2 separate regions of the Homo sapiens genome follow, and region 2 is linked to region 1. Evidence: promoter capture Hi-C in 16 types of primary human blood cells and fetal thymus (Javierre and others, 2016). All regions are on one chromosome and are shown on one strand. The core of a region is centred on a gene start or on the middle of the fragment in contact, and the rest is flanking DNA. Distances in the headings are between cores, read along the strand shown.

Region 1 (6,211 bases), core at 2,516-5,015:
CTTGTTTGTTTGCTTTCTTCTTGTGTTACTCTGCACATCCCATCTTTTTTTTAACAGAAGAGGCACAGCTATTATTTTCCATAGAAATGCCCTGGCCAGAAATCTTACCTCTCGTGACTTTCAAATGCTAAGATGCTACACAAAACATTACATTGATATTCTGAGCAAATGGTCAAAACTATACCTTTACTGTGGTGAAAATTTACTACCTTACTCACCTAGAATATCATACCGAAGATATAAAAAATACTACCAGGATAGTAAATGACTGCAGAAATAATAACAAGTTTCAGTTCCAATTTGCAACACGTAAGATGAGACCCCAAGCCCAAATGGGTAAAAAACAGAACATTCCAGACGCATCTGCAAATTAGTTACTGCCCTCAGCTGATCCACAGCTGGTTTACTGATGGAAAGAATAACAAAAGGATGTCTAAAGTGTTGAAAGGTCAGAGCAGTAAAGGATGAATAAGAAATACATTTGGCCTGTACAGTGCAATGATATTGCACGTGTGAACTCCATTTACCACCCCAAAGACTTAGCATAGGCTTAAGCTCCTTTGATCTACAGAGGAAATGCTCTCCACTGTAGAATAGCTGATCTTTTTACACTGGTTCAAGGGGTCCTCTGTAACCTCTATAAGCACTAAATTTCCTCATTGGCGCTGTAAAACCACAATAAATCATCCTTGGTGTTATTTGTATGTAAACTTTCTTAGCATTATTATTTTTAATGAGAAGCCATGAATCTTCACTATAAGGCCTTTTGTAAATAGTCAAGCAGAGGTTGCAGGACATTGCAATGTTTGCTTGTTCAAAAGTGGATTTGGTGACAATTTCTCCCATCTCGCTATGCCAGATTCTGTCATATACCAGTTCTGCTCAATTAATTCAGAAAGGTAACAGCTGTTTCTGCCCTTGTTAAAGTCAAGAAAGCTAGGTGCGTTTGAACTAAATATCTGTGAACTGAGACCAGATATTTGCTTCCAGCCTACTGAGCCATTAAATCAGAATTCAAGGAAATGGAGATTTTACTTCCTTCCTCCTTCATCATGGCATGGAAGGGTTCCCTAAAAGGCAGGATCCATGGGGGACTGGGCCTGCAACAGTCAGAGTAGCAGGTCTGAATCACTGCTTTGCCACTGTCTAGCTGGTCTCGGTTTCCTCATCTCCTGTGTGTGAGGTAATATTCACCAAACAAGGTTGTTTTGAGATTAAGAAAGAAGGGTATGTTCAAGAATTTATTCCTCCAAAAATGCCTGGTCATGTGTGAGATGTTCAATGTTAGCAGAACCCGAGATGAATCTCTGGAAAGATTAATAGTACTAGCTACTTTCAGTGCTAGCCTCCCCAGTTCCATTCCCAGGGCATAGGCAGTGCCCAACTTTAAGTTCATGTAAAAAGACCTGAACGGACTCAGTGTTTTCTTCCAGAGAAAAAGAAGCCAGTAGAATCCCAACGAGCCTTTAGAATGGAAATCTTCCGCAGATAACAGTCACTCAAGCAACAAAATCTGGCTGGCTTCCCTTACTTCCTTAGTTCCAGGGGCAGGAGGGAATACAAACCGTGCCCCTTGCCCTAGTCTCAGTTCTCCACAGGGCTGGCTTCTCTGGAATATGTCCTCCCTCTGGGCGGGCAAAGAGCAAGATCTTGTGCTCTTGCTCCTCTGAACACTCCCCGCACTCCCCAGCTCCTTCTAAACGCGGCGACAGCAGCTCTGCCTCCTCTCCAGGTGCCGCATCCCCCAGGCGGCGGGGAGGAGGGGCGGGGGGTGTCCCCGGGTTCCTGGGCGTGGAACGCAATGGCCTCAGAAACTGTCCGTACTCTCCCACTCCGCCGGCACCAGCCAGCACCTCCCTCTCCCTTCCCCCTGGCAGAGCACGCAGGGTGCGTGCACCCCGGGCAGTCCCCAAAGCGCGCCTGCTGGAAAGGCGCCATCCATCATCCTCACCTCCCATTCCAGCGGATTCTCGCCTGAGCCCAGCCAGGGCCCGCCCCTCCGGCCAACCCCAAAGATGCTTGCGGTGTGTATGTGGAGGGGGGTACTTTCTGGGACCCACTTTCATAGCCCTCTCTACCCCCATTTCTCGCAGGGGTGTCGGGGGAAGAGAACCAGAAAGCCAAGACCACTGAACCCGGAGTACTTCCAAATCTGTTACGCTTCCAATCATCCTCATAGCATCACCTTAGTTTATGGGCATTTCTCCCTAGCAGGAGAGCTCTGCCAAAAGCCCGAGAGCGGCACCCCACAAAAACCCCGCGCCCCTGCTGCCTGCCCAACTCTCGCCCCACGGCGCAACCTCCCGGCCCGGCACCTTCCGTCCCGGGGTAAGACTCCTCGTTTTCCCGGAGCGGAACCCAGCCAGCCGGTTTCGGAAGTTTCCCACCTCCCCACTACAACTCCCTTCCGGGAGCCCCCACGCGGACCTCGCTTAAGGCGAGAAAGCCTAGAGGTCTCCCCTAAATCTGCACTCACACCGGGGCCGGCCCCCTCTTCCCTCCCCCTCCTTTCTCCTCCCTTCCAGCTCCAGTCCCCGCGCCTCCGGAGTCTCCAGCGCCAGAGGTTCTCTCGCCCAAGAGGAAACTTCTTTCTGGGCTAAATTCAGGTCCGAGCAGGAAAGGCTTTCCCTTCCCCGCAGGCATCAGAGGCGCGCTCACCCCCTATCCCCCAAAAGACCTAATTTCCCCCTCTCCCCACGATCACCCTCTCTGAGACTGCCTCAGATTACTAGTGCTACTCGACTTTTCAGGTCAAAAGGTCCAGCCGTCTCTGAAGCCACCACGGGGGCACTCTGGATTTTTCCCGAGACCCTACCAGTCCCGCGTGGCTTGGAAAAGACAAGTAAACAAAACACGGACCCGGCAACTCTGGGGTGTGTGTGTGTGTGTGTGTGTGTGTGTGTGTGCGTACGCGCGCGCGCGCAGGAGACAGAGCATCGCCCAAGAGTTAGGGCAACAGCTGCTAGAGCACATCTGGAAGAGGGGGAGGGGGTTCCACGCAGAGGGGACAAGAAGCCCCCAGTGGCTTCAGGGCCGAGGGCTGGGCTAGCCTGTAGTTCGTTACCTGTCCTATGTTGATGAATCCGTACTTGCTGGCGATACGGTTGGCCTCCGGGAAGCCCCCGGCGATTTTGACTGCCCAGTGGTTGGTGTAGACGCGCGTCCGACACACGGGGAGCAGGCAGCCCCCGAGCAGCGCCAGCACGCACAGCAGGTCCAAACGTCCCGGGCAGCAGCAGCGGCTCCCCCAGCCCATGGTCCCGGCGCCTCGCTGCTCCCTCGCTCGCTGGCTGGTTCCGCGCACTAAGGGCGCGCACAACTAACTTCTCCGGCCTGCGCCGCCCGGCGAGCAGCCCCGGGCCGCCGCAGCTCGCAGCCCCGGGCGATCGGCAGGAGGCGGCTAGCCCCGGCAGGGAGCAGAGCAGCGAGCCTTACGCCGGCTCCTAGACCATCCCTGGGGCTGCCGGGACCTGTGCTCCCAGCTCTCCGGCCCGTGGGGCGCTCGGCGATGCTCCCCGGCTCGGACGCAGGAGGAGGCTGAGTGGGGCGGGCGTCCTCCGCAGTTGGGTTTCGCCCGGCTTGGCTCCCGGACTCTCCGACTCGGTCTCGCTCCTCCCGGGGCCCCCGAGCGCGGCGGAGATGACCAGCGGGAGCGGTACAGGCAGCGACCGGGCGCCCCCTCTGCTGGCCCGGGCTCCAAACGCTCGCTTGCTCGCTCCCAGCGCTCCCTCCGGCTCCGAGCAGCGCGCGAGGATTCTGAGTGGCAATGGCAGCAGCTCCTGCTCTGCATAAATGACTTCCCCCGCCCCCCTTAACACCCCTCCTTTCCCACATCGCCCTCCTCCTCTCCCTCCTCCGCCCTCTTGAAAGCGGCCGCAGCCAGGCGCTGACGAGGTCCTAGCGCCTCCGGGTTCGCCCAGCTGTAACCTCCAGGGTTCCGGGCAGTAAAGGCAAGTCTTTCCAAAGGACTGAGAAGAGCGCTCCGAGATCGTGGTTTTACTCCCTTCTCTTCCCTCCCTGCTGGATTTGTATGAATTTACCGCCACTTCCCGAAAGACTAAAGAAATTTACACGCCGGTGCGAATTAACCGCCCTGAAGATTCATTCATCCTCGTTCTAAACGTCCTTAAATAACTAGGCATTTAAGGAGGTCACTTACGTGTCAATTGCCGAACAAATAACTCGAGATTTTCACTTCGTTAATTCTTCATGCTTTTCAGCAGCTGTTTATTTTACACTTTCTGCTCCCGGGAGAAGCTACCACACAGGACAGTAAGTCGCATCGACTCCTAGAATTGGCTCGAAAGCCAAGTCTGTTGCCTGCTCACTTTCGAAATCTGCGATACTAGGCAACGCCACGGGAGAGTACAATTCCGGCCTTGGAAGTGAGGAAAGATGTTTCTATGAATATTTGGTGTGCTAGTGGATGGACATGTTGGGCCAAGGAAATAACTCCATTCATTTGTTGGATTGCGTCTGACGAGGGCTTCTTTTTCTCCACCAAGGGAAAAGTTTCCCAACTTTTCCAAGCACAGTCCTGTAACAGTGAAAGACTTTAATATGAAAAAGACCACAGAGGAAGTTCAGATGAGATATGTGGCGGCGTCACCTTCATTACTCTATCATGCACTGTGACTGCAGCAGGCAGGAGGGAGCTCAAATTAACCCTCTTCTCGCTTCTCCTTTACAACCTCCCTGCCTTCCTGGAGCGGGGGTGGGGCACAGGGTGATTTACTGTGACAAGAAAAATTATCCCGTATGAAATAATTCAACTGACTTTAAAAGTATTCACTATATCCCTAACTGTCCTCCTTTCTCTCCTCCTACCATGCCCTATTTCTTTCTTCCTGTTAATTTAAATGTGTTTGAGATTAATTAACTCATCCCACCTATAGCTTTTGGTACTGATTTTTTAAAATCTGAAAGATACCTGCAGACTTAAAATTCCACTAGTACCTTTGAGCATAGCATTTGACATTTTACATATTGTATAAGGTATGCTATATTATTTAATCTTGAAAACAAACCCACAAAATAACATCATCCCCACATTATAGCTGAAGAAATAGAAGATCAGAAGAACTAAAACATGTGCAGAAGTGTATGTATTTTATTCGTTTATTTATTTGACTGATTCAACACATCTGTTTTGAGCACCTAGCATGTGCAATGAATTGTGCTGTACACTGGAGAAAGGGGAAGGGGGAGGCACAAAAAATTAGTGGAATTCAGAATCTCTGAATACTGTAGAGTAAATGTGGTTTATTATTGAAGGTATGTATGTATGTATGTATGTATGTATGTATGTATGTATGTATGTATGTATTTTTGAGACAGAGTCTCGCTCTGTCGCCCAGGCTGGAGTGCAGTGGTGTGATCTTGGCTCACTGCAGCCTTCGCCTCCCGGATTCAAGCGATTCTCCTGCCTCAGCCTCCCCGAGTAGCTGGGATTACAGGCTGGCTAATTTTTGTATTTTTAGTAGAGACAGGGTTGGCTGGTCTCGAACTCCTGATCTCAAATGCTCTGCCTGCCTTGGCCTCGCAAAGTGCTGGGATTACAGGCATGATCCACCATGCCCGTCCTATTATTATTATTATTATTATTATTATTTATTTATTTATTTTTTTGAGACGGAGTGTCGCTCTGTTGCCCAGGCTGGAGTGCAGTGGCGCGATCTCGGCTCACCGCAAGCTCCGCCTCCCGGGTTCACGCCATTCTCCTGCCTCAGCCTCCCGAGCAGCTGGGACTACAGGCGCCCGCCACCAGGCCTGGCTAATTTTTTTGTATTTTCAGTAGAGACGGGGTTTCACTGTGTTAGCCAGGATGGTCTCGATCTCCTGACCTTGTGATCCGCCCGCCTCGGCCTCCCAAAGTTCTAGGATTACAGGCGTGAGCCACCGCTCCCGGCCCTATTATTATTATTTTTAAGAGGAAAACATAAGCACTATGCTTGTGCTTTAGAGTTTTGGTACAGTCTCCCTGCTAGCCAGTCCCTGTAGACACATCTCTTCCTGCTTCCCTAGCCATGGAGTCCGAAAGCTCACAATCTATTACAACACTGTTAACTCTGACAATCTGCATCTATGCATAGGGACATTGGATTACCCCTCTTGAAGATGGTAAATTTCAGATGGGATAAGACTTCAGTCAAGGTCCACATCTCAATACACATATAAGGGACAGTCAATCTCTCTTTTTTTTTTTTTAATT
Region 2 (6,210 bases), core at 2,627-5,126, 630 kb after region 1:
TTGATTAGAAGAGCCAAAAACCAGCACTAAGCAAAAGCAGAAAAGAACAAAGATCATTTTTCATTAGGGTTACTGATGGTCCCTAGGCATGGTCAAAGAAATGATGGAAGAGGCCACGTGCGGTGGCTCACACCTGTAATCCCAGCACTTTGGGAGGCCAAGGCAGGTGGATCACGAGGTCAGGAGATCGAGACCATCCTGGCTAACATGGTGAAACCCTATCTCTACTAAAAATACAAAAAAATAAAAATAAAAAATTAGCCAGGCATGGCGGCACTAGTCCCAGCTACTCGGGAGGCTGAGGCAGAAGAATCACTTGAACTCAGGAAGTGGAGGTGGCAGTGAGCCGAGATCATGCCACTGCACTCCAGCCTGGGCAACAGAACAAGACTTCATCTCAAAAAAAAAAAAAAAAAAAAAAGGAAATAGAAATGATGGAAGAATGATTGTCTGTTTGTTATATAAAATTAGAGACACAGGAATATCATTAATATATTTGTTCCAGAATTGATAGCAAGAATGGCTTGACTTGGCTTAGGCCGTATCCTTTTGTTGCTTATAATCCTTTATTAGTTTCTCTGAACATTTTTTAAAGAGACTGACTTCATTAGTAGAGCAGAACCATATAAGTTAAAGTCTACACAATGCATTCCAAGAGATGGACATGATTATGTTGGGCTAGAATGCCATTATAACAGACATGAGGAAATATGTAGATTATCTCATCCCTGGAGACCTTACAGATAACTTCTTGTGGTACTGGGATTTGTGGAGTGAATTCCCATTGCCTTGTTACACCACTGTGGAAGCTAAAAAAGAGAATGGGACATTTTAGAAATTGTGCATCACTGAAGAACAGGAGTATTAAGAAGAAATTTAGGCTGGGCGCAGTGGTTCACACCTGTAATCCTAGCACTTTGGGAGGTTGTGGCAGGTGAATCACCTGAGGTCAGGAGTTTGAGACCAGCCTGGCCAACGTGGTGAAACCCTGTCTCTACTAAAAATACAAAAAGTAGCTGGGCGTGGTGGCAGGCACCTGTAATCCCAGCTACTTGCGAGGCTGAGGCAGGAGAATCATTTGAACCCGGGAGGCAGAGGTTGCTGTGAGCAGAGACCACACCATTGCACTGAGCCTGAGCAACAAGAGCAAAGCTCCATCTAAAAAATAATAATAATTTTTATAAAAGAAACAGGTTTCTTTGATTCCCATCTGGAATTGGAAAAAAAAAGATGGAGAACACAAATAATGTTGGGTTAGGAATATGTGTGTGTTTGTGTGTCTTTAAAAGCTTTAAATAACTCCAAGTGATTCTAACACGTAGACAAAGCTGACAACTATGGCACTAGGTCCATCCCTCTTGGGATATTCTGAATTGGACAGTGCAGTTGCTTCAAATATAACAGTCATTGGCACAAACATTTAAATTAGAAATGTGTTGTCTCCCTACAGCACCTAGCTAAGCAAATATTAGTTCCTCCAGAAACATTTATTGAAATAAATCACTGATTTTAGCCTGAGAGTGGGGTCACTGTGCAACTTAAAATGTAAACAAGATTTTCTCAAATCACCAGGCCCCATACTATAGAAGGGCCACTGCCTTTACTAATATTTGTATAAATTCCTAGGAGATTCACATTCCCAAAGTCACCTCTGGCCCCAATTTCATGACTCTGCTGAATTTTAACTTCAACAATTCCAAAGCATCGAAACACATAAGACCCTCAGCAAGAAAGCATTCTATTCTGCATCACACAAACAGAAAATCCCTATTAGACATCCCTGTTTTTCAAGTCCTTTGTTATCCTGAGGCCAGAGATTCCTCACTTATTTTGTCACCTCAGGTGACTTCGCTGTCTTATGTGGCTGATGGCTGTTCCCCACCTGCCTCAAATCACTCCTCAGACCCCACCCACTCCCAATTCCCAGGTCTTTCCACTCAGAGAACAGACCAGCTCTTTGCTACCCCTGCTGCCAAATAGCTTCAAGCCCAACTCTGCACCTACCCATTTAGGTGCTCAGTTTAATGTGATGGCTTTTTTTAATCCTTTTTAGCAACACCAATGACTAGGAGAGACTCTAAGATTATAGCTGTCAACACTGGGCTTCAATTGGGGCTAATGCTGCCCCCTTGTGGTAGAAGTGAGAATGCTAGAGATGCGTAATGCAATTACGATTTCCCCAATATTATTCTTTCAGATTTTAAATGTATCTAAAAACACATCCTCAGTTGGACAATCTACTACTATCCCACCTTTAATTAAAGACTTTATACAGATTGATTAGGTACTTCTAAACTTTGATGCCAATGACTACTAGATAGACAGGAAATGTTCATGTACTAATACTTGCTATGTGGTCATTTATCTCAAAATTGCTCAGTGCAGACTGTATAAAATCAAAAGGCATCTGGTTAGCAGCTGAAATTCACTTATCAGGAATTCCAGCCTCCAAAGTATTTTAGTAAGAACTTCAAAGATGCTTACCAAAAACACCAGAGGGTTTCTTAGCATAAAGAATATTAGAAATCATTTTTCTCTGGTGAAATAAATGGAAATAAGTAAAATTCAGGATATATCATGGGTTAGAAAGATACTTGGGGCCGCACTAACCTTTCTTAAAACAGGAGAATAAAATCAGCAATCCCAGTGTCTTAATATCTTGGGACAATCCAGGGCTGTATTTGGTCCTATGTCCCTTTCACACTGCAGAAGACTATCAATTTACCCAAATAAGAAGTTCACATCTACTCACCAGAATGGTGTTGCATTGGCTCACAGGAAGCCTCTCATTCAAGATGCTTAGAGAAATGCCAAAAGTCGGAGAATAAGGCACTTTCTGGGCTTACAAGAATAGGTAGGTAGTATAACTGTTTTAATGTATCTTTACTCATTAAAAATGGGAAGGTTTGGTAGAATTTGGTTTAAGGCTATCTTCAATACAAAATGCCACCTGGTAAGAAAGTTGTTGAGAGAGGGCAGAGCAAAATGGCGGAATAGAAAGATCTACCAATCATGCCCTTCACAAGGACACCAAGTTAACAATTATCTATACAGAAAAAACACCTATTCATAAGAACCAAAAATCAAGTAAGCACTCATAGTACCTCCTTTTAACTTTATATCACTGAAAGAAGCACTGAAGAGACTAAAAACAGTCCTGAATCACCGTTGTGACCCCTTCCTCACTCCCTGCCTTGGTGGCATGGTATGGAGGGATTCTCTGGGTGCTGGGGGAGGGAGAATACAGCAATTGTGATGCACTGAACTCACTGCTGTCCTGTCAGAGCAGAAAGGAAAACCAGACCAAACTCAGCTGACACCCACCCACAGAGGGAACATTTAAGCCAGGCTTAGCCAGAGGGGAATCACCAATCCCAGAAGTCTGAGCTTGAGTGCCTCCAAACCTTGCCTCCAAGGGCTATAGCACTCTGTCTCCAAGTAAACTTGAAAGGCAATCTAGGCCATAAGGACTACAACTCTTAGGCGAGTCCTAGGGCTGAACTAAGCCCAGAGATAGTGGACACCAGCTGTGGCAGCCAAGGGAGTGCTCGCATCATACCTCCTCTAACCCCAGGCTACAACTCACAACTCCAAAAGAGACCCCTTCCTTCCACTTAAGGAGAGGAGTGGGAAGAGTAGGAAGGATGTTGTCTTACATCTATGATACCAGCTCAGCCACAGCAAAATAGGATACCAGTCAGAGTCATGAGGCCCCCATTCGAGGGCCTAGCTCACAGATGACATTTCTAGACACACCCTGGGCCAGAAGGGAACCCACTGCCTTGAAGGAAAGGACCCAGTCCTGCCAGCATTCATCACCTGCTAACCAAAGAGCCCTTGGACCTTAAATAACCAGTAGTAATACACAGGTACTACGTAGAAGGCCTTGGGTGAGCCTCTGAGACTTGTTGGCTTCAGGTGAGACTCAGTACATAGCCAGCTGCTGTGGCTATGGGACAAAACTTCTGCTTGAGAAAAGCAGAAGGAAAAGTAAAAGGGACTTTGTATTGCACCATAGGTACCACCATCACCACAGGGGACTAGAGCACCAAGAGGGTTCTTGGGATCCCTGATTCCAGGATGTGACTCTTGGATGGCATTTCTGGACCTAACCTGGGCCAGAGAGGAACCCACTGCCCTGAAGGGTGAGTCCCAGGCCAGGTAGCCTTCATGACAAGCTGACTTTAGAGACTGTGGGCCTTAAGGGAAGATGAGTGTTAGTCTGGCAGTACTCACCATGGCCTCGGTTGGTAGTAGCTACAGGGTGAGGCTCCTCTGCTTCCATCTTGTGGCATAAGTGACAGCTTAGCCACACTGCAATAGAATATCAGGTAGATGAAGGCTTTTGACTCTAGTACCCCACTCCCAAACAGAACTTCTGGGCCCACCTAGGGCTTGGGGGACCTCTCCCTAAAGGGAAGGACATAGGCCTGGATGGATTTGCCACCTGCTAATTATAGAACCCTAGGCCCTTCAGCGAACATAGGCAGTAGCCAGGGACTGGTTACAGCAGGCCTTGGGTCAGGGACTGGTTACAGCAGGCCTTTCTGAGACACAGTGCTGTGCTGGCTTCAGGTCTGACCCAGTGCAGTCATAGTGGTGGTGGCCACAGGGGTGCTTGTGTCACTCAGCTTTAGGTGACTGATAACAAAGAAAGAGACTATATTTTTAGGAGAAAGTAAGAGAAAAGAACAAGGGTCTCTGACTGGTAATCCAGAGAACTCCCCCAGATCTTGTCCAAGACCATCAAGGCAGTACCTCTGTAAGTCTAAGTCTGCAAGAATCACAGCATTATTTGACTTGGGATGCCGCCAAAAGCAGATACATCTTAAATCACAGCACCCAAGTCCTGTCAAATATCTAGAAAGCCTTCCCAGGGAGGACAGCTACAAATAAGCTCAGACAGCAAAGGCTAAACTAAACACCTAACCCTTTCAATGCCCAGACACTGAAGAACATCTACTAGCATCAACACTATCCAAGAAAACATGACCTCACCAAATGAAGTAAATAAGGCACCAGGGACCAATCCAGGAGAAACAGATATGTGACCTAGACAGGGAATTTAAAATAGCTCTATTAAGGAAACTCAAAGAAATTCAAAATAACACAAGGAAGGAGTTCAGAATTCTACCTGATAAATTTAACAAAGAGATTGAAATAATTTAAAAGAATCAAACAAATTCTGGAGCTGAAAAACACAATGGACATAGTGAAGAATGCAACAGTCTTTCAATAGCAGAATTGATCAAACAGAAGAAAGAATTAATGAGCTTGAAGACAGGCTGTTTGAAAATACAGTCAGAGAAGACAAAAGAAAAAAGAATAGAAAATAATAAAGCAACCTACAGAAACTAGAAAATAGCCACAAAAGAGCAAATCTGACTGGATCTGGGAAGATGGCTGGCTGAATAGGAACAGCTCCGGTCTGCAGATCCCAGCGAGATCAACACAGAAGGCTGGTGATTTCTGCATTTCCAACTGAGGTACCCGGTTCATCTCATTGGGACTGGTTAGACCATGGGTACAGCACACGGAAGGTGAGCAGAAGCAGGATGGGGCATCACCTCACCCAGGAAGTGTTTAACAGGCCGGGAAACTCTCTCCCCTAGCCAAGGGAAGCCATGAGGGACTGTGCCATCCAGCCCAGATACTATGATTTTCCCACAGTTTTTGCAATCTGCAGACCAGGAGATTCCCTCACGTGCTGACATTACCCAGGCCCTGGGTTTCAAGTACAAAACAAGGTGGCTGTTTGGGCAGACACTGAGCTAGCTGCAGGAGTTTTTTTCATATCCCAGTGCCACCTGGAACCCCAGTGAGACAGAACCGTTCACTTCCCTGGAAAGGGGGCTGAAGCCAGGGGGCCAAGTGGTCTTGCTCAGTGGGTCCCACTCCCAAGGAGCCCAGCAAGTGAAGAACCGCTGGCTTGAAACTCTTGCTGCCAGCACAGCAGTCTGAAGTCGACCTGGAACAATAGAGCTTGGTGTAGGGGAGGGGTGTCCACATTACTGAGCTTTAAGTAGGTGGTTTTCCCCTCACAGTATTAAGGGAGCTGTTGGAAAGTTTGGACTGGGCAGAACTCACTGCAGTGCAACAAAATGGCTGTGGCCAGACTGCCTCTCTAGATTCCTTCTCACTGGGAAGGGCATCCCTGAAAGGCAGCAGCCCCAGTCAGGGGCTTACAGATAAAACTCCCATCTCCCAGAG

The links. Contacts are between HindIII fragments. The CHiCAGO score rates a contact against its expected background, and 5 or more counts as called.
Region 2: a contact is called between a fragment that was not itself captured here and the fragment with the promoter of PCSK5 in region 1, in 1 of 17 cell types (M1 macrophages). The highest score is 5.8, in M1 macrophages.

What each region holds. Positions count from the first base shown.
Region 1 is chr9:75,888,227-75,894,437 of GRCh38, reverse strand. PCSK5 (proprotein convertase subtilisin/kexin type 5) reads right to left here and starts at 3,765. Exons shown (of 38, transcript NM_001372043.1): 1 at 3,065-3,765. The coding sequence starts at 3,256. The HindIII fragment of the contact is 12,342 bases long and covers 1-6,211 here.
Region 2 is chr9:75,261,583-75,267,792 of GRCh38, reverse strand. No RefSeq gene overlaps it. Among named protein-coding and RNA genes, the nearest start is that of OSTF1, 180 kb to the right of the region's middle. The HindIII fragment of the contact is 5,169 bases long and covers 1,292-6,210 here.